7 separate regions of the Homo sapiens genome follow, and regions 2, 3, 4, 5, 6 and 7 are each linked to region 1. Evidence: promoter capture Hi-C in human tissues and cell types (Jung and others, 2019). All regions are on one chromosome and are shown on one strand. The core of a region is centred on a gene start or on the middle of the fragment in contact, and the rest is flanking DNA. Distances in the headings are between cores, read along the strand shown.

Region 1 (3,874 bases), core at 934-3,433:
GGCTGTAGGCCTAAGGTGGGAGGGTGATTTGGGAAGGGACACCCTGTCAGCCACCTCAGTAACTGTTTCTGCTAGGGTACTGCGGCCTCTGGGGAACCCAAGAAGGGAAAATAAGGGCCTGCCCTTGATTGGGTAGGTAGAGGTCTTTGGGGAGGCCTTCCCTTCCTCTAAGGCATCCTGGGTACAGGGGTTCCCAGCCGCCCTTCCCACCTGCCCTGGAGCATAGGTGAGATTTCTGCCTCCCGTTGGCAGGGCGTGCACTTCTGACAGGCACATGAGTTGAGATGCACCTTTGTGCTAGAGGGTTGTAAACTCTGGGTCAAGTGCATTGTAGTATGCTGGGCATTCAGAGAGTTTCCTTGCTCTTATGTGTGACGGGCTGCCAGAACAGGTGTGGGAATGTGTACTAGGTTCCGTGTATTGCAGGGCTGGAGTGAGAATGCATGTTGAGTATCTTATTTATTACCTTAGTATATGTGAGTGGAGTCCAGGTTGTTCTGAGGGTTATGGGAAGGAGGCTGGGTGAAATCGGTGATAAGATAGTAAGGGGTAGGTGCAGGTATTCAACAAGGCGTTGGCTGCCAAGACCAGGGGGTGGTCTTTCTCCCCCCCGCCCCCAGGCTCTTTCCACCCACTCCTACAGTTCTGTGGAGGAGTGTCTGCTGGTGGGCTCCCCTCTCCTCCCCCCCACCAACCCGCGCCCAGTTTTCTACCCCCTTCTGGGGAGGTGATTGTTGGCACAGAGGGAAACTCCCTTCCGGGCTATCCACCCCTTTCCCATTAGCCTTTGGTGGGGAGGGGTTCTCCAGTTAAACCAGCCCCCCTTTGGGCCTACCTCTGAGAAGGGTGGGGCTCCAGCCCCCTGCAGCTCCTTTTCCTTTGGGTGGAGAAGTGGGACTAGGAAGGAAAGGGGAAGGGGGGAGGACCCGATCTCTGCCTTTTCAAATGCAACCGGAGACCAAAGGCAATTAGACCATTGGGACCATTTCCGACCTGGCGCCGCGAAGCCCGGGAAGTGACAAGGTAATTTGGACCTCTGACCGACGTGCAAACTGGTCGGAGGGCTGCAGCACCCGGGCTGCCCAAGTGGGCCGCAATTTTACGGTCCTTTATGGACTCCTGGCTTCCGCGCCTCCATGCCTCTTACACCCTGCCAGCCACAAACTGCCCGGATCGGCGTTTGATCTTGCCCTCGCCTGGGGAAAGTGTCTTCCCCGAGCAATTGAAGCATTCCCCGAGCAGTTGAAACACTGGGTGCTTGGGGTGAGCTTCGAATCCCCCAAGTCCAGGACTTGCATCCGCCCCCTCAGCACCCCGCACTCAAGGCACTGCTGTCACCCTCAGTCCCGCCAATGCCAGAACACAGTAGGAGACCCCCGCCAGAACGCAGATAGCAGAGAGAGTTGCTCAGGTGGGTCCCCCCAGCCATCCTGCCCTAGGGGAAGGGAGTGTCTTCCTCCTGGCCTGCGCCGAAGTGAAGGGTGGGCGCAGTGGGAGGCCCGGGGAGCGGAGGGGCACGGTGGCTACCTTTGCTGTGCTGGTACTCGGCGTTCCCGGTGGCGCAGTCCGGGGTGCAGCTCACCTCGATTTCTTCATAGAAATCCGACTCGGTGTCCGAGCTACTGGGTTGCCCCTGTCCGGAGAGGCTGTCGACTGAGGGGGCCGGGGGTCCTGGGCCGAGCATGGCCGCCCCAGCTACCTGGGGCTCGGCGCCCGGCCCCGCCGCGCTGCCTGCGAGTCCATCTACCGGCTCCTCCTCCGGGCCTCCCCCGCCGCGCTCCCGGGTGGCCGGAGGGACGGCCCGAGGGCTCAGGCAACCACGGGGCACCATTTTCTCGGGCGGCTCCGGCAGCGGGCTGCCCACGGCTTCGGACAAATTTGAGACTCTCTTGCCAACCAGAGTGCCAAGCTGACCCCCATCCAGAAACACAACCATGTCCTTTCGGCTCTCCATCCCGGGGCTCTCCGGTGGGGGAGGGGAAAGCCCCAAGTGAGTTCCTAACCCCGGCTCCCTGGGTCTCCAGCGGCCGGACGGATCTTGGTTGCAAGAGGGAGAAAGAAAGGCCGGGTGCCTGGGAGGGCGCGGAGCTGCTGGAGCGCGGTCTGGACCGCGACCGCGGCGGTGGCGGTGGGAGCTAGGGTCACCTTGTGAAGCGAGCGCTCCTCTGTGCCGCACCGCCTCTGGGAGGAAGCCCCATTGCCCTCTTCTTTCTAAGCTGTCATCCTCCTGCTGCAATCGTCATTACAGTACCGCTGGTGACGCCACTCGGCGAGCGCAAGTGGATAAATAGAAACGTCTGCCACAGCGAAGATGAAAGGAAACCCGCAGCTAATGGCTCGGCAGTGATGCGCCAGGTGTGGGCCTCGCTCGATTGGGGAGGAGAGTGTGAAAACAGACAGAGAGACACACACACTGAGAGAGGGAGACACCCAGGCAGAGGGGATGCAAATGGAATTCCGCAGAAAGAAAAGAGAGCTTAACGCGCGCGGCGAGTTCCGCAGGGGCAGCGGGACTCGGTAATTAAATAAGCTTTTGATTTTTTCTTTTATTGTTGTTTTGACTTTTGTTTTCTTAACTTGGTGCCTTGATCTAACACCGATGAAAGAATCCATAACTGCATTTTAGAAGTGTGAAGCCCGGCTTACAAGCCTCAATTCTGTCGGCATTATTACAACTGTCTGCCCCTGGCAGCTAACCTCAAACTGGCTGAAAAGTCTTTTTACAAGCTACGGAAAAATGTATTCCCCCGCCCCAAGTTGACTGGAGAGCTTGAGGCTGGGCCATCTTTTCCTCTTTTCTCCTCCCTCTCCCTACCCACCTCTGTCTCCTTACTCCTGCGAACCAAACTTTGCTATTTTTCTTCCCTAAGGGGCAAGAAATAAATACCTTATTATTATTTTTTAATTTAAAGACCCGCCTTGGCTTCTGTAAGAGTGTGTGCTGATTTCTTTTAAATACCTCCTTCCCATCTAGATGGCCTTAAGTTTTCCACAGCCTGGCTTCATCTTGAGATGGCTATTCGTACAAGAAGTCGCTTTCCCGTTTGCCTGGACCTCGCCTGCACTCCAGGTATGTTGGGTGGGGAGAGTTTCTAAGAGTTGTCTTTTTTTTTCCCTTGCCCATATTTTAAAGTATTCGTTCAGAATCAGCGAAGTCTCCTGGAAAGAGGTTTTTCGAATGAAGAGGCGCCAGGAATGCGGCCCCTGCTGTGGCAGTACTGGAGGCCCCTACTTGGGAGAAGGCAGTAGCTTTCACCGCGCTATTTTGGGCAGGGGTTCAGCCTCCCCGAGTACAAAAAGGTTGGGGTTCATAGAGGTTTGACTCATAAGGTCCTCTCCCAAGTCCCTGCCTAGGGGCAGTGGTACCTGTCTCCAAAAGTGGATGGCGTTTGAGGTAGAAGAGAGTGAAGTCGCTGAAAATGCCCTAAAACAGCAAGTAAGTAGGGACTCTGATGAAGGGCTGGAGGTGGGGGCAGGGGTTGTGGAACTTAATATCTGGAAGCTGCCATAGGCCTCTCTTGGCTCCTCTCCCAGGGAAGAAGCTGGTATAAAACTCCTTCAAACTGACCCTTTTTGAGCTCCAAGCAAGTGTGCTGGGGCCAGGTGGGTGGGCTGAGTCTATCCCCACATTGCTGAGAGCAGGAGGTGGGCACCTTCTATGCTCAACCCCCCTTTCTCCGCCTCCTCCCGAAGAGCTTCTAGCCCTAGGCAGCCAGCTGCAAAGGGCAGCCCAGCACCTCCCTCCTTTCTGTGTCCCTAGCAAAGCCCCAGCTTTTACAGGTAAGTCCTCTTCCGTGACCTTTTTATCTGTTATCTCCTACTTTTCTCTCCTCCTTTTTCTCTTTCTGTATTCTTCTCCTTCTTTGCTTCTCTC
Region 2 (3,874 bases), core at 545-3,044, 450 kb before region 1:
ATGGTGAAAAATCAGATACAACCTGATTTTTGTAAATAAAAATTAAGGTTTGCTTAAATATTTTTTTCACTTGGTATGGCAGGGACTGTTAGTTGCCTACCCATATCCATTCACCTTTATTTCTTAGTAAAAGCCTTATTTCTTGCTGGGTGGCCATGTATCCAGCAAAAAGACTACATTTTCCAGCTGTCCTTAGAGTTAAGTGTAGTCCCATCACTAAGTTCTGGCTAATGAGATGAAAGCAGAGCTGGGCTTCTGCGAAGTCTCCCTCTAGAGAGCTGATTCAGCCCAAAGGGGAGACTTCTTTGCACCCCTTTTGCTGATGTTGAACTTCAACAGTCAGCTTGGACCATGAAGTGACCTTGAGGTTGGAGACCCTCATATGAAGGAGGAAAAAGATAAAGAAGACCAAATCCTGGAAGATTTGGAGTGTGCAGTCATACAAGGACCTCTGCTCAGAAGGGCCTCACATGTGGTTCAATGCTCTATTATTGCTACCTTGAAACTTTTAATAACTGTCATCTTTGATGTTATATTTTTTGGTTTTGTTTTGTTTTTTGAGACTGGATTTCCCTCTATGGCCCAGGCTGCAGTGCAGTCTCACTGCAGCCTCTGCCTCCTGAGCTCAAGTGATCCTCTCTCCTCAGCCTCCAAAGTAGCTGGGACTACAGGCATGTGCGTCCACGTCCGTTTGTTTTGTTTTGTTTTATTTTTATTTTTTTATTTCTTGAAGACACAGGGTTTTGCCACATTGCCCAGGCTGGTCTCAAACACCTGAGCTCAAGTGATCTGCCTGCCTTGGCCTCCCAAAGTGCTGTGATTGCAGGCATGAGTCACCACACCGAGCCTGAGGTTGTGCTTTCTACATAAAGTCTAGTAGAACAAGGAAGCATGTGTGTGAAAAGAGAAGTTACACACAATCAGCACGTCTGCTGTTTCTTGTTGCCCTATTTGCATGTAGTCTCATGAGCTCTGAATTCCGGAGGCCCCACAATGAGTGAGAGTTCAATGAGACTCAGAGTGTACAAGGAAAATGTGTTAGATCTATGACTAATTAATTGGAGTACTGATGGCCCCAAGAGGCCACACTTTCCATCTGAACTAGAACTTGCTATGCAGAAAGAAGGCAGTGGCATTTCTAGGAACATAAACAATCAAGGAATCCTGTTGTGTCATTTCTTACTTATGTTACTTCCCTGTAGTAGTCAACAACTTACCCTGAAAATAATAACATAGAAGGAAAAGGGAAGTTAGACAGCCCATAGTTCCTTTTAATTTCAGTCCTTCCTTACTTATCAGTAAGCCAAAGGTAGAAAGTGTTGGTAGAAGCTGCTTGTATCAAGAAGTGAAATAAAAACAGTTAATTTCATTTTGTGCAACATTTTCATTCTTCTGGTTAAGAACAAAGTACAAATGCACACACATATTATAAAATATGAATTATGTGATTTCGGTGATCTCATGTACACACATTAAATGTTCTTATATTTGCATTTAAAACTAGCATTGCTTAATATAAAGATGAAGGGTAAAATTCATGCTATCAATTTACGTTTTTACGTATTTTTTGTTACTTAGATCAACAATAGGAAATTTTAAAAAAACACCAGGGCAAGTCAAGAGAGAGGTCCCAGTAGAAAAGAAAAATCTTTATATTTCAGTACTCTTTTTTTGTTTGTTTGCAACCTCCGCCTCTCAGGCTCAAGCGATTGTGCTGCCTCAGCCTCCCAAGTAGCTGGGATTACAGGCACCTGCCATCATGCCCAGCTAATTTTTGTATTTTTGTAGAGACGGGCTTTCACCATGTTCGCCAGGCCGGTCTTGAACTCCTGACCTCAGGTGATCTGCCCGCCTAGGCCTCCCAAAGTGCCGGGATTACAGGCATGAGCCACCACGCTCAGCCTATGTTTCAGTACTCTTAATGAAACACTTTTTAAATTTTTGAACAGGGGCCCCCACATTTTCATTTTGCACTGGGCCCCACAATTACAGTCAGCCTTGACGTCAAGGAACCACCACACCATCCCTAAACTGCCTGCTTTTGTGTTTAAATCACCGTTTCATTTTAGTCAAATATAATCCTTGCCCTTACAGTGTGCAGTATAGTCACTACACTGCTGCTAAAGAAAGATGTTTGAGGCCGGGCGCGGTGGCTCACGCCTGTAATCCCAGCACTTTGGGAGGCTGAGGCAGGCGGATCATGAGGTCAGAAGATCGAGATCATCCTGGCTAACACAGTGAAACCCCGTCTCTACTAAAAATACAAAAAATTAGCTGGGTGTGGTGGCGGGCGCCTGTAGTCCCAGCTACTCCGGAGGCTGAGGCAGGAGAATGGCATGAACCCGGGAGGCGGAGCTTACAGTGAGCCGAGATTGCGCCACTGCACTCCAGCCTGGGCGACAGAGCGAGACTCCATCTCAAAAAAAAAAGATATTTGATTTTTTGGAAAACCTTTGTTGGGTTTCAAAAACAGTGGGGTATAGAAAGTATTTTTTTTTAATTTTTGTTTTAAATATACAAACACACACATAGCATACATAGAAAAAAAAAGACCAGAAATAATTACACCAAAATATTAATGTTCATAATATTTATCTCTAAGAGTTGGAATTATTGGTGTTACCTATTTTCTTTGTACTTGTGTGATTTTCTGTTGTTCAGTATTTCTTAAATGAATATTTAATATTTTTATAATTAGATGAAATTTAGAAAATTTACAAATGAATCCTGAATCAGTATGAAATTTACTATTGAATCTAGAAACTATGTTAAACTTAGTCATGTAATTTTTTTTATACTTCCCTTAATTTGGGGATTTTCAAACTATAAAAATAATACAGGCTAGTTGTAACAACTGAGATTATACAAAGTTATATTTTAAAAAAACAATTTTTCCTGGCACATGCCTGTGGTCCCAGCTACTTAAGAGCCTAAGATAGGAGGACTACTTGAGTCTAGGGGTTCCAGTTAGCCTGGACAACACAGCAAGACCCTGTCTCTTTTAAAAAGCCAAAAAACTATTTTATGTATATATTCTGTCTCTGCCATCTAAGGCTCACATGTTAAATGACCAACATGTATCATTTCACAAATTATATAGTATAATCTAGCCTATATAATTTGCTCATCTCACACACACACAGATTGATTTTTGAGTTTGTTTTCTGTGAAATAGAATTATAAATGTGAATCCACAATTTACTATTTTTACTTAATATATCACAAACTTCTCTAAAAGAAAATACATAAATTTATCATGTTTCTTATTTCTCCATGTGTACATAGAGACATATTTCAAATCCCATTTTAAGCTTCTCATTTTGGAACTTGGAGATGTCTTTTGACAAAGATGCTTTGCTTGACCAAATTTTAGTCAGGCTCCTGAACCTTCTCCTAGGCCCATCTATGCTCTTCCTTGTAAAATCCAGTTTTGGCAAGAGCCCTGCTAAGTCAGTTTAGCAAGAACTCTCCATCCTGCATTTCCTATCACCCTCAATAGCTTGATCAGGTTCCTCAAACTCCGCCATCCTGCAGGAGATGTCTGATCACCCTGGCCTGTCTTCAGCAAGAATCCTGTTAGGTCAATTTCACCAGAATCCCCCTTACCCTTAATGTGTCCTCTTAGTAATTTTTATCCACTGAGCCCTACCCTGCTTCTTGGCTATAAATTCCCATTTGCCTGTGTTGTATTCGGAGTTGAGCCCAATCTCTCTCCTCCACTGCAAAATCCCCTCGCCATGGTTCTTACACTTATTGCAGTCTTCCTGAATAAAGTCTTCTTTAGCATGCTTTAACAAGCATCATTGAATAATTTTTTTCTTTATCACTTCTAAGTATAGACTTATTAAAATAAACATTCTGTCTATGATGCTGT
Region 3 (3,874 bases), core at 818-3,317, 410 kb before region 1:
TTCTCATCCTATCACTGAAACCTTGGTCATGGTATTTCTTTTTTTTTTTTGAGACAGAGTCTCACATTGTCGCCCAGGCTGGAGTGCAGTGGTGCGATCTCAGCTCACTGCAAGCTCCGCCTCCCAGGTTCATGCCATTCTCCTGCCTCAGCCTCCCGAGTAGCTGGGACTACAGGCGCCTGCCACTACACCCGGCTAATTTTTTTTGTATTTTTAGTAGAGACGGGGTTTCACCATGTTAGCCACGATGGTCTCGATCTCCTGACCTCGTGATCCGCCCGTCTCGGCCTCCCAAAGTGCTGGCATTACAGGCGTGAGCCACCACGCCCGGCCGGTCATGGTATTTCTAATAGTCTGTTGGACATCTTTTCAGCTCATTGACAGTTCATAGTTACCCTGGGTAAAACTGAGCCAGCTCTCCTTGATTTCTTCACTTAGGTATTGATAACACTATTCTCTTACTGTCATTTTGGACCTCACCCTTATTTTAGCCTATAATCCAATCCATTGTTTTATCCTTTTACTTCTGTCTTTGAAATAGTTTTTATACCTGTCTTTTCCTGTGGCTACCACACTTTATTAATTTTGACTTTGTTATGGACTGAAATTTTATGTCCCCACAAAATTTATATGTTGAATTCCTTTTTTTTTCTTTTTTGAGACGGAGTCTCGCTCTGTCACCCAGGCTGGAGTGCAGTGGTGCGATCTTGGCTCGCTGCATCCTCCACCCCCTATGTTCAAGCAATCCTCCTGCCTCACCCTCCTGAGTAACTGGGATTACAAGCACATGCCACCATGCCTGGATAATTTTTGTATTTTTAGTAAAGACTGGGTTTCACCATGTTGGCCAGGTTGGTCTCAAACTCCTGACCTCAGGTGATCCACCCACTTTGGCCTCCCAAAGTGCTGGGATTACAGGCGTGAGCCGCTGCGCCTGGCCAAAATTCCTAACCCTCAATATAATGATATTAGGAGCTAGGCCCTTTGGGAGGCAATTAGATCATGCGGATAGAGCTCCTGTGAATAGGATTAGTGCTGTTGTACAGAGAGACATGAGAGTGGCTTCTCTTTCTGCTCTCTACCATGTGAGGATACAGTGAGAAAATGGCCATCAGCAAACGAGGAAGTGGACCTACCAGACACTGGATCTGCTGTCACCTTCATGTTGGACTTCCTGGCCTCCAGAACTGTGAGAAATAAGTGTTCGTTATTTAAGCCATTATGGTATATTTGTTATAGTAGCTCAAACTAAGGCATCTAGAGGATTACTGTCACTTTTATATTGGTCTTCTTGCCTCCAGGCTCTTTTCTTCAAGTTCATTCATTGTACACTGCTGCCTCATTTCTGTTCCTAAAGTGTAAGTCTCATCTGTCATTTCTCTTGCCCACTGTTTCAATAACTACCTCTTGCCTACAAAATACAAGTTGTTTAGCATCCTTCTATCCTTCCACATTATGGTTGCATTTTTTTTTTAATCTTAATCTCTTGCTGTTTTGTTTCTTTGTGCATTCTTTAGGAAGAATAGAGGGCAGTATCATACAATGTTTACAAGTGGAGACTCTAGAATTAGAATGTCTGGATTTGAATCTTGGCATTACAACTTAGTAAAGTATTAGGTATTTTACTTCAACTCAGCATCAGGGTTCTCAGCTGTAAGATGGGCTTCATATATAGCATATGGTAATAGGTCTGTTTATAAAGTGCTTAGCATAGTGTCTGGCATGTAGTAAAATTGCAGTAAATATTAACTATTACTGTCATTTCTTCATGGCTCTTCTAGTTCCTTGTATATATTCATGTTCCTTTTTCTGTATGGAGTTCCCCTCCTCCTTACCCTCCTATCCATTTGAAATCCTACCCCTTGTATAATATCCAGGTCAGATGCCACATTCCTCAAGTTCCCACACCATGAATTCTCATTTTTCATCAGCATTGTGTTTTTATCTTTAACTGTCTTATGTTAGTGTTTATGTACATGGTTTATTTCTTCTTGGTTTTAAGCTTGTTGAAGGCAAGGACTGTGTCTCTTACCTTCTTTGGCATCTCTTTTGGTACATGTGATAGTTGCTTAGTGTTTGTTGAATTTGTGAATGAATTGTGGTTCTACGTGACCATACTTATGAATTGTTTGACCTAGAGTGAATTGCCTGTTAAATTAACTGTCTTTAAATTATAATCTTCCTAGTTGCTGAAGTTTTTAGATTGCTAAATTACACCTTTTCAACCTTAACACAGTAATGCCACATTTTCTTTCTGGCTATTATTGCTAGTTTGTTTATGAGCATTAGTTAGAGTTCTCTGATGAAGTGTACTCATTCTGTTTAATATCAAAATAAAATTTCAGTTTGGTGTCACTTTTCTGTCATTGAATTCCTTGCAGGCCAGAAAGACAAACTATACCAGTGTACTATTATACCAGTGTACTATTATACCAGTGTATTAAACTTAGCGCCTGTTAAATGATGTTGCACAGAAATGACACCCACATTTAATGGAAGTGTTAGAGTCAGTCATTAAGTTAAAGGAATTAAATATGCTTCCAACCCAAGAAGACCTCTAGTTCTTAAGCATTAGGGCTTCAAATAATTTGCTTTTAACAAATCTCATTCCATTCAGATTCAGTTCAGGGAAGAGCAGATTAAGTTCAGTTGAGGGGACCTGAAACTTAAAAGAGGGACTGTGATTAGTTGTTGCACTACAAATTTTAAAGCTGGAGTTCTTGAAAGAAAAAAGAAAAAGAATGCTGGGAAATGGAAGAGCAAGGAGAGTTACTTCTCTCTTTTCCCTCACTAGACTGTGAGCTTTTAAAGGACAGGGACCATACGTTGCTTGTGTCTGTCTCTGAGCTCTGTCATAGTACTTCATGCAGTGAATATTTATTGAGTGGAGTTCTAAATCTAGAAAGTGAAAAATTGCATCTAACGCTATTTCCATAGTACTGTAAAGCCTCCCCACTCTGTAACGCATTACTTTGATTCATATGCCCACGGAGTAATTTCAAAAAGTCTTATATGAAAAATAAAAGAATAAATAAAACCTGTGTAGTTTTTAAGGCTTTTTTTTTTTTTTTTTTAATGGCAGCCTGGTCAACATGGTGAAACTCTGTCTCTATTAAAAGGACAAAAATTAGCCAGGCATGGTGGTGCGTGTCTGTGATCCCAGCTACACCGGAGGCTAAGGCATGAGAATTGCTTGAACCCAATAGGCAGAGGCTTCAGTGAGCCGAGATTGCATTACTGCCCTCCAATCTGGGTGACAGAGTGAGACTCCGTCTCAAAAAATAAATAAATAAATAAATAAATAAATAAATAAATAAATAAATAAAAATATAATAAGGAAGTCTCTCTTTTCTGAAAGTTCAGAGTTGTTAGACCAAGGTCCTGATACTGTTACACTTGCCATTTAAAGCCTATGGAGGTATCTCCCCTTTCTACCCCAGGACCACCTTTATAAACTGGTGATTCCATTCTCCTGGGTTTAACATCTTTTTGAGTTTTTTTTTTTTTGTATCATTGGAGGGGATGGTTTCTGTAACTGTGGGAGTGGGAAGGTAAAAAGTTTTTCCATTCTTGAAGCTGGTCCAAGACTTACGTCTTTTTGAATACTTTCTGTCTTTTATACACATTATTAAGGGAGATAATATGGAATACTTCACATTATAAGTAAATTACATATTAGGTGTTTTATAAATGATAACATTATTTAGTTTATTGTTAAAAATGGTAAAAGAATGTTATACAGGTACAAAACAGGAAAAATGCTTAAAATTTTGTGAATGTGCCCCAGAAAACTAAATAATTAGAAGTTAGTCTGCCTGCACATTGTTGATAACTTTAAATGTGGTTAGGTCCATTAGTTTAAAATTTGCCTTTT
Region 4 (3,874 bases), core at 185-2,684, 390 kb before region 1:
GCCAGGAAATAGTTGCCTCTTCTAGAGTCTCAATATTTATGAAGGTGTAGGAAAGGTTTTCATGCAACTTAAGCGCTTATTTCTTTGTAATTTGATGGAAAATTTTTTAATTTTTAGAATTATTTGTAGCAAGTCCTCATTATATATCAAAATATACAGGTTGAATGTATCTCATTGTAGATTATAAAATGCTGTATTGTCTTTAGAGTGAAACATTAAAAGAGAATATCTTTTTTTGTTGTTTTAGGGTCTGAGATATTTTATAATATCATTTCCTAGCTTGTTAATACACAATATGCCAGGATACTTGATTTACTGAAATTTTAAAGAGTGACTTATGAAACTGCTTTTTGTTAAAGCTACATTTATCCTGAATTTGATTTAGAAGCTGATAGTCTCTTGTGGAAAACTGAAATGTAATTACTTCTAGCTCTTAATATTTAGATTACACACTCTGTTTGGCTTCCTATTCTTTTACTTTCATCAAATGCACATAAATACAAAAAGAACATGTGTAAACTTCTGCCACATGAAAAGCAGAGGCATTCCTATTTGTAAGATGCTTACATGTCCCTTCACATTTTCTAGTAGAAATACGTTTCTACATGCATAATGTATGTAGAAATATGTTAGTTTTTACATATGTAACTCATTCTGGAGAGAAATCCTCAATAATCTGCCTGATCGTCTTTTGTCTTTTTTTAATGAAGAGAAAAAAGGCTTTGCAGAAGATGTTGTGACAGTTGGGATGCCGGATTTCTTTTCTTTTTCTTTTTTTTAAGAGACAGGTCTCGCTCTGTTGCCCAGGCAGGCTGGAGTATGGTGGCGCGATCATAGCTCACCGTAACCTCCAACGCCTGGACTTAAGTTATCCTCCCATCTTAGCCTCCCAAGGAGCTGGGACTACTGGTGCGCCCCACTACACCCAGCTAATTTTTCTATTTTTTGGTAGAGATGGAGTCTCACCGTGTTACCCAGACTGGTCTCCACCTCCTGGGTTCAGGCAATCCTTCTGCTCCGGCCTCCCAAAGTGCTGGGATTACAGGCGTGAGTCATTGTGCCCAGCTGATTCTTTCTATTAAAGGAGAGTTTGAGTCAAGGAAGGAGCTCCTGGTCTCTCCTGACCTCTTTGGTTGCCAGTTGGCTGGCCAGGTTTATCAAGGTGAATATGTGGAAAAGAGCCAGAGAGCTGGGGATGGGGGATGTGAGTAACAGTGCATCTACTCATGCATGCACCTAAGCAAACAGGATAGACAGCGCAATTTTCCTTTGCAGTATGTTCGTGGTCATTATTAAAGCAGAAATGAGGGTTGAGAGAGTGCCCTGATGCCTATTCATATATCTTTATTCTGTATGTAGTTTCCACGTAAGTTTCGGTAGCTCATACTGTTAGCCTTCCTGGTGGTACTTGCAGTCATTGTAGTAAGTGTTTATGTCCTTGTCCTGACCTTTTCTTTTCTGAAACAGACTTTTCTTTTCTGAAACAGATACTTTCTTCTTTTTTTTTTGCTTGAAAATACAGACTGGAGGATGGTGGGGACTGGGACTTGAGATTTTGTTAGGGGATTTTGCTGCCCACCAAATCACTGATGAATCCTACAGTTGAGTTACCAGCGTTGTTGTACTAGAATATTTTTCTTAGTCAAAGTGTATACCAAAGATTATGCTGTTTAGGAATCCAACTTGGAAGAACCCATGAGAAGTGTGTCTGTTCCCAGGACTGCTGGGTTTTGCCCTTTTACCCTCAACTCCCTTCACACTTTTAAAAATAAACGATAGATTTGATTTCACAGAAACTGCATCTGTATATGTATAATGATGTGCCTTTATTTTGGGCAGTAAGCTTTTTTTTTTTTTTTTTTGGTCATTTGCAAACAAGGATTAGTCTTTATGCACTGTCACTGTTATAGGCATGCATGAAAAGTGGATCCTGTTTGTGCTCTAGAAACTGCTTACATTTTAATTTAAATAATGTGCCTTTGCAATTTTTTTTAAAGGTAGTATCTTCCCCAGCAGATGTTGCTGAAAAAGCTGACAGAATTATTACAATGCTGCCCACCAGTATCAATGCAATAGAAGCTTATTCCGGAGCAAATGGGATTCTAAAGTATGTATTTCTCACCTGTGGATATTTTCTTGTTATGATAGTTCATGAATTTCACATGTTAGAACTATTAGGAAATTACAATTGTGTTTGTTAAACCTTTCTATACTGTTTTTATTTCATAAAGTGAATAGTGTGGTGGTTTTCTCATTGTAAAAGGCTTATTTTTTCACTGAAGTCAAGTATGTGACAATGTGTATAAAATTTTTTGGTTCCGTTTCTTTCCTTTAACTCTTGCGTTAAACTTACCCTTTCACTAGTAACATGTTTAAGAGACTTTTAAAGCTTACATTTGAAACTGCAACTGTTAATAATATAATTTTCTTACAGCTTATAGAAATTCAGGAAAAGGGTTTTATGAAAAATATAGCCAAACATTGGAAAGAACACCATCGTTTAACATTTTATTATACGAAAAAAAGTTATGTCCTGTGGGTTAGTACGTTTGTAGTAAGAACTTTGGGAAGTTGGAATTAAAGGTTAGCAGTAGCTCTTTAACCCATTTATGTCAGAGGTTGCAAATTTTTTTGTGAAAAATCAGACCTTGGCAATGACCTTGAGTAGTAGGATGTACTGCTTGAGCAGTAGGATGTAAATAACTCCCACAAACTTAGCATAAATGGAACACTAGGCATAAATGGGTTAAGTAAAATACAGTTTAGGTCAGTTTCCTAATCAGTGCCTGTCTTCCCTGGCTCTGAGAAACCTTTTGGTTAATTGCTGCTTATTGCCAAACCCTTGCGGTTATGTTAGGATGATAGTGATTGAATTCCCAGCTTAGTTTTGTCATGTCACTGTTTCTATTCCTAACTTATTTTGTTGTTGAATTTCAGCAAAGAGCTAGAGCAAACTGGTAGACACTGTAGTCACAAGAAGGGCTAAAAGAAAGGGTGTAATTTCAGGAAACTGTAATATGTGAAATTTGAAGTTTCTGGTAATTGAATTGTGTTGGAAAACTAACCAACTTGGAAGGAAGCAAAAGACACTTGGATATTAGGCAGAAAACTGATAAGATAAATGTTTAGATTTCAGGGAAGGTTAAAAGACACTCATTTTGGATGGAGCTCTCAGGGCCACAGTGTGTGTGGTCCAGAGGCATCCTAGCTGTCCTGTTACCTAGCCTGTTACAGTTATGGTCCTGCTTTACCTCTGAAAGAAAAGTTACTAAAAACTTCTGAGGAGACATAGCCCTACATTTGTTAATATCCTTTGCTAAGGAATATGGTGACTAGCTATCAGAACAGTTTGGTCCAGGGAGTGTTTTTAAAAAGTTTGACTTTACATTGAACTATAATTTGCTTCTTATGGGTGATTCTTTATTTTTTTCTGGGTGAGGATCATTTCCATACACCCAGTGCATGTATAATTTTTGGGATGATTTTCCATTTGTTGAAAGGTTTAAGATCTTAAAATATTAAGATCACAGATTGATAAACTTAATTCTTATTCTTTTAGGCTAAAGAGAAACCTACATACTCTTGGAGTATGCTATTTCTCTTCTGTGAAATATACCCAACAATTGCATTTGAATTGTAACAATTCATATGTCTAAAATTGTTGTTTAAACAATTTTTAATATGTATATTTTTCTTTTCTTTTTATTTTAGACGAGGTCTTGCTATGTTGCCTAGTCTGGTCTCCAACCTGTGGCCTCAAGTGATCCTTCTGCCTTGGCCTCCTAGAGTGCTGGGGTTACAGCCTTAAGCCACCATGCCTGGTTATGTTTAAACCATTTTGTGTGCTATTTTTTTAATAGAAAGATTTTTCCTT
Region 5 (3,874 bases), core at 449-2,948, 380 kb after region 1:
AGATGCTGCCTAAAACTGAATATAGTGTAAATCTCAGACTAATGTGTTATTCACTGTGGCTTCTTTGAAAATATGTAGTAAAAAGATTTTGATTATTGTAAGGTGCTATTTATCAAGAGTCATCTTTTAGGGTTGAAAGATGTTCAGCCCTACCTTTAAACAGCCCAGCTTTCTATCAAAATACATCATTTAGCTTCCCAAAGTCAATTTTGGAAATTTTGTCCAATGATTGGATTGTAAGACTCTGGTATTTTTTACCCATTGTACCATGAGAGCTCTTGTGCCAGTTCATGTCACCTTTTCCATGTTTGAAAAGTCCACAGTTCATCTGTAACCTGTAAAAGTGCTAAGTAATCAGGGAAAGACATCAGTTAGAACAATCAATAACTTTTCAATTAGCCATTTTCCAACTTTGGGCATTTGGCTCTGTTGATTTGCATGTGCCCAGTTTAATTGATTTTTATGTTTATCAGTACCTGTTTGGTCAGAGCCATACCCTGCTTTAACAGAGAAGAGCATGTCTTTTTTTTTTTTTTTTCCTGATGGTAGCTTACATTCTAGGGTAGGATCCCTATCATATTAAGTTTGGTGACAGCACATCTCAATGAAAGCAGAGAGAAATCTGGCCCAATTCACAATGTAGAGAGAGATGTGGAATTAAGTTAGAAAGGCCATGGGGGTGCTGTGTGATTGGTTTTACCTTTATTTTATTGATCTGCGGCTAAGCATATGGTGGTAGATTCAGCCCAATTCTTGCGCCCTCCCCCTCCCCCATACAATTCAGGCCATCACAGAGGCTGAGTGTGTGTATATGCATGGGCCAGGAGGTATTGGGTGGTTGGAGGACTAGGCAGGAAGAGGAGGTGTTACCTTTGTGACTTGTTTTTAACCTCCAGTATGCAAGCCCTATTCTAGGCTGTTTGATAGTCGGGGGTGGTGAGGACAAGTGGCCAAACTGCTTTTCAAGAGTGGGAATCTGTGCTAGATACTACATCCAGAAGCTGAGAGTTACTTTATCATTTGCAAAAAAATTTAAACTGTTCTGACCTGGTGTAGTTCCACCTTTTCACTATGTGATCTGTGTAGAAGTTGGCAGAAAGCAGTTAGTGTGTGTGTGTTAGATACTTGTCCCAACCACTTGCGACTCCAGGGAAAGGTGGGGTGGCTGTTTTTTAGGAGGTCTATATGTTAAAAGGGGGGAAAAAGGAAGATTGGAGTACTATTCAGTGATTTGGTGTGTTTGCCTCTTAGGGGTCTCCATGGCAATTGAGAGATTTCTAACTTAAACTGCTCAAGATTGCTGAGCCAGTATACGTCAACTTTTAATTTTGTTTTCAGACCTTAACATTTATCGACAGAGCAGTTGTAAATCTGATCTTTTCAGAGGCCTTCTCCCCCAGATCCTTACAGCTGTACCGTGAGATAAGGTTTACTCTTGACAGTGTTAAGGTGTATTAGGAGCTAAAATCCCATCACGTTTACTTTCACCAGGATAACTTTTTCCTGCTGATGACTTGGGCTGGGGTGGAGGCTGATGGAGATAGGGGTAATTCTGGGGTTAAATGCAAGCAGTGTAGACTCTGCAGTCTATTTGGCTGCCGGCCCGGAGGCAGGAGATGGGGGTGGGTGGGGGTAGTTAGACCTGGTAGTTAAACCCTTTCCCGCGGGCGCAGAGTGGGCCTCCCACGCTTCTCTCCCGTGGCCAGTATGCGTGAGAGTGTGAGTTGAGCCCCTGCCTCCGAGGAAGAATTCTAAAAACCGGGCTAAGGGTCGAGCGAGGGAGGCTGACCTTTTCTTGTTATCAAATTACTGCGTTTCCCTGAATTACGGGCACTCAGGAATGGTGAAATCTACATATTAACCGAGGAACACGACCCTCAAAGGAAGGTAGAAGAAGGCTAACGCTCTTGCTAGTTTACTGTGCTTGCTAGTTTACCGTTTGCAGGGCTATTTAGAGCACAATAAGAAGCTTCAAATCTCTTCTCCAACCAGCCAGAGGAACACTTGATTCGCCCAAGACTCTTATTGCTTGCTTTTGAAATATTACCCTGGCTCTGAGCTACAAAGCCACAGATCCAGCCCCATTTGTCTAGTGAGGGCTCTGCCCCAGACCCGGCTCTCCATGCTCACTGCTCCGCCTGAGAGGAACCCTGGGGTTTAACGCTGAAGTGCGTTTCTCAGAGGGCAGAGCTGGAGCATCTCGCAGCCCTACAACTTCTTTGCGGCGCTTGGTCTGTCTTTGCGTTGCGAGATCAGGATCGGTGTGTTGCTCAGACACCGGCCGAACGCCACCGGCACGTCTAGGAGTCTCCTGTGCCTGGAAGAGGCTGGTTTCATTCGATTCTAAAAGAAACGGGTAAAGTGTAGATTTTAAGAAATAACCTAGATTTCAAAAGCTTAAAAACCAACCAAGTTTGGTTGTGGACAGTCAACAAACTAAAATTATTTCGGGAACTGCTTCCAGTTTAAAGTTTTTTTTTTTTTTTTTTTTTTTTTAAGCAAAGCAGTTTCTACTCTCTCCACATCACCTTTGAGAAATAATCACGAAAAAGTCACTGTTTATTAAATAATTTTAGTTGCTTTAAACCTTTTCTGGGAAAAGCTTAGGAATAAGTATATTAAAAAAGGCTACTCTAAAAAAAAAAAAAAAAAGACCATACCCAATCTCTGAATTTCTGGCATCCTTGAAAAATACCGATTCTTCCTACAGTCCCACACTCTTTCAAAAAAAACTTTGTCATAAAATAGTAACATGGATCAGTATTTTAAAAACATGTTTGGGGGCGTTAGAGGGCACTATGTAGAGTGTTTATTGCAGCCTTTTTTTTTTTTTTCTGAATTTTTATAAAACTGAAATGACCTTTTAAAGAAAAAAACTCTTGGGGGCAATTCATTGTTATTACTTCCAGTGATAGAAAATAGATTGTTTGTTTAAACTTGGATTGTATAATGAAAATATAAAATAGGCAATTAAATACTCATGGAAGAGGAAATCAAAGGCAAACATTGAGTGAAAATAACATTAAGCAGACTATTCCCCAGTCATTGGGCCAGTGATTCTTCCTATTGAGTCTGGTTGGAAGACGAATCAGCAGTAGGGATGTTGCTTCTTCCCTTATTCCACTTTCTTGCAAAAGTTACTGTAATGATCTCAGGGGAGCCAGTGATCTTTTCCATTTCAGCTAATATCGAAATATCCAAAGGTTGCTTGCTGTTCTGGGCACAAAATTTAAAGCTTTTAGAGCAACATGCTTCTTCATAAGTTTTGTTATTTTGAATTCACTTTAGAAGTCTGTGTCTAATTTGCACTGGTACTAGATTATGTCTCTATGTCCCCCACATCAAAATATAACTCAAAGAAAGAGAAGCTGTGACATTTGCTTTCATTTCATTTTCATACTTTTTTTTAACACATTAGTTGTTAATATAACTCAAGGAAAGGGAAGCTGTGACATTTGCTTTCATTTCATTTTGATACTTATTTTTTAATACATCAGTTGTTAATATAACTCAAGGAAAGAGAAGCTGTGACATTTGCTTTCATTTCATTTTGATACTTAAATTTTTAACACATTAGTCGTTAATAGACTTCAAACCATAAGCTATTTTTTTTAAATTATTACAGTATTCTTAATTATTTTACTTGTCATATTGACTTAGTGAAAAATTACCTGTACACATTTATTATGAATGTATAAAAGTTTAATTGGCTTTCCTCATTGGATCAAGATACTTTTGTAATCAAGAATTACAAACATTCTATCACATATACTAGGTTTTAAATGGTTAATTGTAAGTACAGTTGAAAGATTATTAGATTATTATACTACTTTGAACTATTTATACGTAATATTGTTTTGATGCTATACAAAGT
Region 6 (3,874 bases), core at 869-3,368, 290 kb before region 1:
ACTGTTCCCCTTTTTTAAAAAAATTGAAGAATAAAATCTTACAGTTTAAAATTCTTATTGACCCTATGCTCTTTTACAGTGAGTCTTTATGGATGTTAGCAAAATTTTTAAATGTTGTTAAAAAAAAAAAGTAAAGAGTAAAAAATATGGTATACAATATATTTTGAGATTCCTTTTTTATTAGACCTTTCTGCTTTCTAATTGGATTCCTACATAGGCATTAGAAGCATAGTTTTATGGTCCTGAAAGTACCCTACTTGTATTAGAGAGGTTTTGTTCCTGTGTATCACATAGAAATAACATTGATGATGTTTTGTTGTTTTAAATTACCAGCTCCACTGGAAATTGATTTTAAAAAAAAATTTTTGGTGGTATAACAAGTTACTTGCATTGCCAACCAGGCCCAGGCTCCTCCAGCAACCACTGTATTGTCTTCCGCCAAAAGAAGCTTGAAGCAGCTGAACTTCTGGAAAGCTGTTCAAGATGAGAACTTTCCCTCCAATGTAGTTTTATTAATAGTTTCTTGCATACTGCCCTTAGAAGATGTTGCTTTTGCATTTATGTGATGACTGGAGCCTTAGTTGTTTACCCTAATAAATATAACAGATGGCAAAGGTTTGTAATTTGTAAATGGCCAAAAAGCTTGTTCTTTGTATGTATCTATACTGTCTGGTTTTACATAAGAACAAAACAAATTATGTCACTAAACTGGGATGTTTGTGTCACAGGAACAGATCTGGAAATGAAACATCTAAGACCATGTCAATCCAAATCATTCACTTATCCATCATACAAATTTCTTAATAAACTCATAAAATGCCATCGTACTGGCTAGTTGTTGACTATTAAGTTTACCACCTACTTAATAGTCAACTACTAGCCAGTACGATGGCATTTGGGCATACATGTAGGTCTGCATTCAAGCTGTCCCACAGACTTAAGCTTTTCTCATTTATAAAATGACAAAAGTGATTACATCTATCCACTGGGTTGTTGTGAAGATTAAGTGAGTTAATCCATATAAAACTTATTAAATAGTTTCTGGCACATAGTAGGTGTCGATATGTGGTAATGATATTTGTGGTTGTGGTGAGGTGGTTATTGTTTGAAATTAAATTGTACTTTAATCTTTTTCTTCCTAACATGTCTCACTAGCTGGCATTACATATTTATTTGTCTGTTTATTACCTGTCTTCCCATCTAGAAGCTCCATGATGGGAAATGGTTTGTTTACTCATTGCCATATCTTAAGAATATACCTGGCAGGTATTAGGCACCCAGTGAAGATTTGTCAGATAAATAAGGAGAGGAGGGAGGAGGTAGGGGAGTGAGTGAGTGAGGGGATAAGATATGGCACTTCTCTTGCCAAAGGTAAAAGTTATCCAGGTGGGTCTTAACTCAGCCCTCCTGGCAGACAGGCACAGCCTCCTCTTAGCTTCCTTCTTACTGTCTCCTTCGCTGCACGTGTAGCACTTGGATATAGCAGATCTGAGTAAACATTGATGGATAAGTGATTGATTAATTAAAACTGACATGGTCTTAGATGTTTCATTTCCAGATCTGTTCCTGTGATACAAACATCCCAGTTTAGTGACATAATTTATTTCGTTCTTACGTGAAACCAGACAGTATAGATTACTCACAGATAATATAAACAAACATTTTTGGCCCTTAAAGTCTTGGTTACAGTGAAGGCAAATGTTTAATTTTTTAAATTTTTTTGCAGTTTATGCATTATTTTTACTTCTTCCAAACCTCATTTAAAATTCTTGTTTTAGAGGTGAGTAGATTTGACACAGTGACGTTTATTTGAGACGCATTATATATGCAGTCAGAGCGATGAATTCATTCTGTTTATATCAGAGAACATTCCAGCAATTGTAAAGCCACATGCATGCACGCATGCACTCTCGAACCACATCCAGTGGCAAGTTATTATGGGGACTGACAGACTGTCATTCTTTTGATGGCTTGAGCTGTATATCTTCTGAACAGCAATGGGGCTCTTATGCAGAAAGTATCATATGTTCCCAGCCAATTTACAGGGAAACAGCAATAACATTTTATCATGGTTGAGAGCCCAGTAGCTGCTTCCTATTAAACTTGCCCTTTCAGATACCTGTCTTGGATTAATTTGTTGATTTCGAATGGAAACTCAGTCTTCTCCAGTGAAGCATGACGTTCTAGGATAGACTCTGAATGACAATTACTGTGTATTCTAGCTGGTTTCAGACCATTACAAGCCTTGGGCACAGTGGAAAACAGAGGACTTCAGTAACTGATTTTAATATCATGTCTAATTTTAACTGTCAGTTATGTATGTGCCAGAGAACGAATCCTCAGAAAGATGAAATGCAAAACACTTCTAACTTGCTCTTTTTAATGATACACTTTGCTGCGGGTGGGGGCAGGGGGAGGGAAGTGGAGAGGGAATAACTATCTCCTGAAGGGAATCAGCACGGTGGGGAAGCATCAGATTTGAAAAGTGAGAATGAAACAACTGCCACCTGATTTTTTGTGTGTGCCCCTCAGGATGCTTCTAAATAGTAATGTGTTCACCAGAAAGGGTTTCCATCAATCAATACCAGTACTTTTCCTTGAACATTCAAGAAAAATGTAGGGTTTTACAAAGTTAGGATAATTAGCTTTGCTCACCATTTTGTTGAATATTATAGAAAAGAGTGAATTTCCTTAGCTGTAAAAGCTCTTGTGAGCTACTACTGAGTGTAACCTGGTAGATTAGAAAGAAGGAAGGAATTCTGCTGCTTTAAATATGATGAACCATCTTAAAAGATCTAAGTTAGGAAGCCCTGAAATTATATTTCAAATGGAGAGAGAAAGTGACGTTTTGGAGTCTTTAAAAGTATTTTCTCCTTATGGAGCATATTAGATGTATGCATTCTTGAACATTTGGTACTTTGCAGTTATAGCAAATTAACTAATTGTTAATTGTGATTTTACTTTTCACAATTATTCCCTAAGCACACTGGCTTTATCTTTTCCTAAGTGATATACTACAGTAGCATACTGATAGCCTAATCTTATTTAAAAGGAGAAAGCAAGCATCAGTAGCATACTATGCATGCAGTGAACTTGGATCTTTATAAAAGAATGAATGAAACTGTTGGGTTTCTCTCTGGGAATCTACAGTTGAACAGAATGAATGATAGCCAATTTAGACTGAATTTCTGTATCTGTTACAATCCTTAGTAAAATCCATCACTATAACATGGGCCACCATATGAATTCAGATACATGATATGCCACATAGCAGTCTGGGAACCACAGCTACCCCTTGAAAGCCTGATTACATAACAGTTGTATTATGTGGTAATTCCATACATATTTTTGGCTGTTAGCCTCAGCCCCCTGCTCTAGCATCTGAAAAAATGTTTTATTGGCCATGATATTCAGATTTTGAAATAAACAGGCATGTGTTTTAGACACACAGAGTAAACAATCTGAGCGTGCCAAGATGCACAGTTTGTTTAACATTTACATAAGTGTCTCTTTTCAGTGTTTTTTTTATTTTCTGGAAGAGGTTGGTTTTAAGAAAAAGTGGAAAGCTTTTATGACAATTGTTTCATAATGGCTCTGTGTATGAAAGAAACCAAATAAATTGCTAGGAATAAAGTTTTATTTGAAACTTGATTCAGTGATACCTAGCAAAATTGTGCTTCCCAAACTGCATTATATCTTTAGAATCCAAGTAATGGAGCATTTTGATTCTATTATTTTTTCTAGGGTCCACATTGAACAGCCGTTTATGCCATCAGCCCAGTGATAGAACAAATGATGTTTCTGCTTGGGCAAGCTTTGTTTTATCAGGATCAGTAACCTTATCAGCAGTTGACCCAGAACTATAATGCATGTC
Region 7 (3,874 bases), core at 692-3,191, 270 kb before region 1:
CCTCTTGTGAGTTCTAGGAATCATCATATCTCCAAGTTAAAATTTTTCATGTTTGTCACTTTGTGATCCGAATGTCTTATTTCTCCAGCCTCTATAACATAATTTCTGATTCTGCTTGTGTGTGCAGGCATACTTTTCTGACTTGAGTTTAATACGTAGTCTCTGATTTTTTTTTTTTTTTCAAAGTTGCAATGGCAGAACTGGGCCATCAAGGACACTTAGAAGGTGATAAGCTGGAAGAGACTTTTAAGGAGAAGATTTATGATGGGTTTAGTTTCCCTGTTGTCCAGCTTGCCACTTTCAGCCCAATTCATTTTGGATTGGTAGGGGGTCTGTCCATGGGGTTCTGACAAATGTGTTTTTATCCTTGTGAATTTATGCTCACTTCAGTGTCCAAAAAAAAAAAATCTATTAAAAACTGATATGACTTTGAACAGTGGCTTGGTCCCTGATTATGGCCTTTCCTGGCCATCCCATTTAATTTCTGGCTGGACCATCTAGTGACATTAAAAGCTGCCCCTTCCAAAGGTGGATGTTCCCTGCATTGCACTGTACTCATTGCAGTTTAGTCTAGTCCCTTTTATAGGTCAGTGACACCTTGAAGCTTGTATACCTGAGTCACCACAAATCTTAAAAGATGCAATTTTCTTGGCAGCTTTATCCTCCTAAGATGAATTGGATGGTGGGAGTGAAGGACAGGGTTCTAATCTCTGTGTTAGGACCAGGGACGATAGAGACCTCTGTCTTCGCACTGGGAAGCTGCTAGCTGAAGGACTAAAAGAAGGGTTTCTTAAGTGGTTAGTTACATGCTGGAATCTTTGTTGTGGTTTTTAAAACAATCTGCTTGTTCTCTAAAAGAACCTGTTTGTGCTTCTCCTTGAAAAGTACCAGTGGCATTCCCTCACCTACGATACAGCTTTAGGTACTTACTCTCTTCAAAAGAAATAAAATTTCAAAGAAAATTCTTCTAAGGTAGTCAAAGAGTTATCAAATCTGGAGAGCTGGGGAATCTTTTCTTGTGTTAGCCCTGTTATGCCAGATGGTTTCCTTAAAAAAATCATGAATGTATTCTGCATGGTCAGGCATTGTCATCTTTGCAGAGAACTGTCTTTGCCTAATGTCCTGTCTGATGGGCCATTCTATATATTATATGCTACATAATCTCCACAAATGTATACTGTGGTCCATAAAACTGCCATACTGTTTTCAGAAACTAGTAATTCACAAAGTAAACCTGAGACAGTGCTGTTAATAAACACAAATTGCAAACAAGAAGGTAGTAAGTGGAAATAATGCACTCATTTAGGAGTCATAAAGCCTTTGATCTTACTTTGAAGGAAAGAGTCTATGTTTAAACTACCCATTCAGGGACAGCCAGATGCCCATAAAGAGCAGTGCTTTTTGCTTTGATAGAAAATCACTGAGGCCTGTCTAGCAGGTCTGGTTTGTAAACAGATTAGTTAAAGGCTCATCAGGACTGATTTGCATAGGATTCAGCAAGCCTCAGTCACTTAATGAGCAATGCCATTTCCAGGTTGGGAAGAACACCATTTTTTTTCCCCCTAGCTAGAAGTCTTAGATCATTACTTTGTGGGAAAGGGAAAGAATATTCATATAAAGTGAACCCTTGCTGTCCTCTACTAATGGGAAAATGATGACCTAAGGCTTGCTTTGCTTGCTGTAAATGATGAAGGTTGTAATGAAAGAAATAGGTGATGAGTTTGAAATTAGGTTACAAAAAAGGTTTTCCTACCCTTCTCTATTGTTAGAGAGACAAAGGAGGACTAATGTGAATTATAATAGAGAAGGTAGAGAAGGTAAATGCACTGCAGACACAGACCACAAACATGTATCCACAAGTGTTTATGGAGGACCTCCTTGGAGCCTGGCTGTGTGTCAAAGGCGAGACATTCCATGCTGCCCAAGGCAGAGAAAGCGTCAGCCTGCACCAAGCCTCCCTTCTGGGGCCATCATTACAGAGAAATGGGAACAGCAGAGGAAAGGAATTTGGCAGTTTAAGCACAGGTTTTGAAATTCCTACCAGTGAGCCGCTATTTGCTTGAAAGATGGCAAGACCGGTATTTCCAGAGAGAGCAAATCCTCTGATCAATCTTTCTGCACTTTTATTTTTGAGTTTCAGAATAATGGGCAATCACCTTCCTGTCAGTAACTAAGAACCTCTCTTCTCCTTAAATTGTTGGAGTGAGAAAAATGTCCAAAGAGGCAGGGCGTGGTGTCTCACACCTGTAATTCCAGCACTTTGGGAGACTGAGGTGGGCGGATCACTTGAGGTCAGGAGTTCAAGACCAGCTGGCCAGCATGGCAAAACCCCATCTCTACTAAAAATACAAAAATTAGCCAGGCGTGGTGGTGCGTGCCTGTAATCCCAGCTACTAAGGAGGCTGAGGCATGGGAATCACTTGAACCCTACCAGCAGAGGTTGCAGTGAGCCGGGATTGCGCCACTGCACTCTAGCCTGGGCAACAGAGCAAGACTCCCATCTCAAAAAAAAAAAAAAAAAATGAAAAGAAAAAAGAAAAAAAGAAAAATGTCAAAAGAAAGCCTTTGCCTATTTTGATCACTTAACAGATAACAAATGGAGCAGCTCAGTAGAAACAAAAAATCAGAAACTGCTTAATTGTGACTTTGAAAAATATTAACTTTGAAAAATTTTAACTTTGAAAAATAAGCAGTTTCTGAGTAAAACAAAGTGATCTCCGAAGTTTTCAACTGACTTCCAAGCATGCAGTGAGCTGCCGGGGGACAGTGGGTGCTTCTTTGTCTGGCTTGCAGCAGCAGCATCCTGCTTATGGGAGACGTTTTTTAAATATTGTCAACGTTGGCAACATTAACTTGCTCAGCTAGAAACGTGTGTTTAAATAGCAACCTTTGGCCTTTGGGTCCTGCCTTGTCAAGGCCAAGGACCTCAGCCTTACCCTGCTTCCTAGAAGCAAGATCAAATCAGCACTCTCCTGTAAATGTCACCTTGGATCCATTGCACTCAGGAAGACACAGTGCAGCTCTGGGAAGTGTCAGGAGAGCCTAGGGACAATTTCATACTGGCGTGAGCAAGACTCCGGGTCCTGTCCAGGTAATTCAGATGGATAGCGGGTGTAAAGGGAGGCCATGCCCTCTGTCTCTCCAGATGGATTTGATTAGGCTAAGGAGGAAGAGGAGGCCTTGTTAGTCTGCTTGTGAAGATGGCTAGGGAGAGCATTCTAGTAAAATCTACTTGAGACCAGGTAAAACAGCTGCAACCCTCCCTAAGAAAACTGGGGGTATTCTATATCTCTCAAGGCACCATGTGTGAGGCCTCAGAGGGCCTTGCAGTCCCTCTTGCTGTCACCTTTCCCCAACCCCACTATTTTCTGATGGGAAGATCTCTTCCAGCTTGCCTTTGTCCACATCTCTCTCAACTTCCATATGGGCACAGACCTGCGTCTTATAGGCAGGGACCTCCTGTATTCATTCATCTTAAGCTGTTTTATGTAATAGTATTGAAAAGTGATTCACATCCTTTTCCATGCCCTGGTCTCCTTATTGGGCTCTTTAGATGGGCACTGACAAGAAGGCTCCAACCCACCTACCTACTGAGGAGGCCTCTTGATGCGTGGCAGCACCTGCATTTCTACCACAGGCTGGCACCAGGCAAATGAGCATGTCCACTGCCTGAGTAGACATTCAAACATGAGCTCCATGAGGGCAGGGACTGTGGTTTTGTGACTGAGGTATCACAAGCACCTGGCACACTGGATGGATCCCACACACAGCATTTGTTTGGTGCATGAGTGAATGAACAAATGAATGAGATAACCCCAGTTTTTATTAGTAATTCTCTTGAATTACTAATAAAATTACTAAGGAACTAGTAATT

What was found. The method cuts DNA at HindIII sites, captures the fragments that hold promoters and counts their contacts. A contact is called where the count stands out against the background at its distance.
Region 2: a contact is called between a fragment that was not itself captured here and the fragment with the promoter of EVX1 in region 1, in 2 of the 25 tissues and cell types used here (liver and mesendoderm cells).
Region 3: a contact is called between a fragment that was not itself captured here and the fragment with the promoter of EVX1 in region 1, in 3 of the 25 tissues and cell types used here (bladder, liver and mesendoderm cells).
Region 4: a contact is called between a fragment that was not itself captured here and the fragment with the promoter of EVX1 in region 1, in 3 of the 25 tissues and cell types used here (hippocampus, mesenchymal stem cells and mesendoderm cells).
Region 5: a fragment that was not itself captured here is called in contact with the fragment with the promoter of EVX1 in region 1 in 2 of the 25 tissues and cell types used here (H1 embryonic stem cells and neural progenitor cells).
Region 6: a fragment that was not itself captured here is called in contact with the fragment with the promoter of EVX1 in region 1 in 2 of the 25 tissues and cell types used here (mesendoderm cells and small bowel).
Region 7: a contact is called between a fragment that was not itself captured here and the fragment with the promoter of EVX1 in region 1, in 4 of the 25 tissues and cell types used here (H1 embryonic stem cells, mesendoderm cells, spleen and 1 more).

Annotation. Positions count from the first base shown.
Region 1 is chr7:27,241,111-27,244,984 of GRCh38, reverse strand. EVX1 (even-skipped homeobox 1) reads right to left here and starts at 2,183. Exons shown (of 3, transcript NM_001989.5): 1 at 1,528-2,183. The coding sequence starts at 1,954. It overlaps EVX1-AS (EVX1 antisense RNA), which reads left to right. Exons shown (of 4, transcript NR_120507.1): 2 at 2,975-3,070; 3 at 3,344-3,436; 4 at 3,535-3,556. RefSeq lists an enhancer at 1,688-2,565. The HindIII fragment of the contact is 9,702 bases long and covers 1-3,605 here.
Region 2 is chr7:27,695,310-27,699,183 of GRCh38, reverse strand. All of the region lies in intron 2 of LOC105375211 (a long non-coding RNA gene), which reads right to left. Among named protein-coding and RNA genes, the nearest start is that of HIBADH, 34 kb to the right of the region's middle. The HindIII fragment of the contact is 3,939 bases long and covers 1-3,763 here.
Region 3 is chr7:27,649,913-27,653,786 of GRCh38, reverse strand. All of the region lies in intron 1 of HIBADH (3-hydroxyisobutyrate dehydrogenase), which reads left to right. It overlaps LOC105375211 (a long non-coding RNA gene), which reads right to left. Exons shown (of 3, transcript XR_007060268.1): 2 at 1,137-1,187. Among named protein-coding and RNA genes, the nearest start is that of HIBADH, 11 kb to the left of the region's middle. The HindIII fragment of the contact is 6,446 bases long and covers 1-3,874 here.
Region 4 is chr7:27,630,569-27,634,442 of GRCh38, reverse strand. HIBADH (3-hydroxyisobutyrate dehydrogenase) reads left to right here. Exons shown (of 8, transcript NM_152740.4): 3 at 1,998-2,107. Among named protein-coding and RNA genes, the nearest start is that of TSL, 17 kb to the right of the region's middle. The HindIII fragment of the contact is 6,193 bases long and covers 1-3,874 here.
Region 5 is chr7:26,855,933-26,859,806 of GRCh38, reverse strand. All of the region lies in intron 1 of SKAP2 (src kinase associated phosphoprotein 2), which reads left to right. It overlaps LOC124901606 (a long non-coding RNA gene), which reads right to left. Exons shown (of 3, transcript XR_007060265.1): 3 at 2,266-2,343. Among named protein-coding and RNA genes, the nearest start is that of SKAP2, 6.7 kb to the left of the region's middle. RefSeq lists an enhancer at 1,784-2,385. The HindIII fragment of the contact is 4,413 bases long and covers 1-3,874 here.
Region 6 is chr7:27,532,012-27,535,885 of GRCh38, reverse strand. The region is part of intron 6 of HIBADH (3-hydroxyisobutyrate dehydrogenase); the gene reads left to right. Among named protein-coding and RNA genes, the nearest start is that of TSL, 82 kb to the left of the region's middle. The HindIII fragment of the contact is 3,145 bases long and covers 546-3,690 here.
Region 7 is chr7:27,514,219-27,518,092 of GRCh38, reverse strand. No RefSeq gene overlaps it. Among named protein-coding and RNA genes, the nearest start is that of TSL, 100 kb to the left of the region's middle. The HindIII fragment of the contact is 4,432 bases long and covers 1-3,874 here.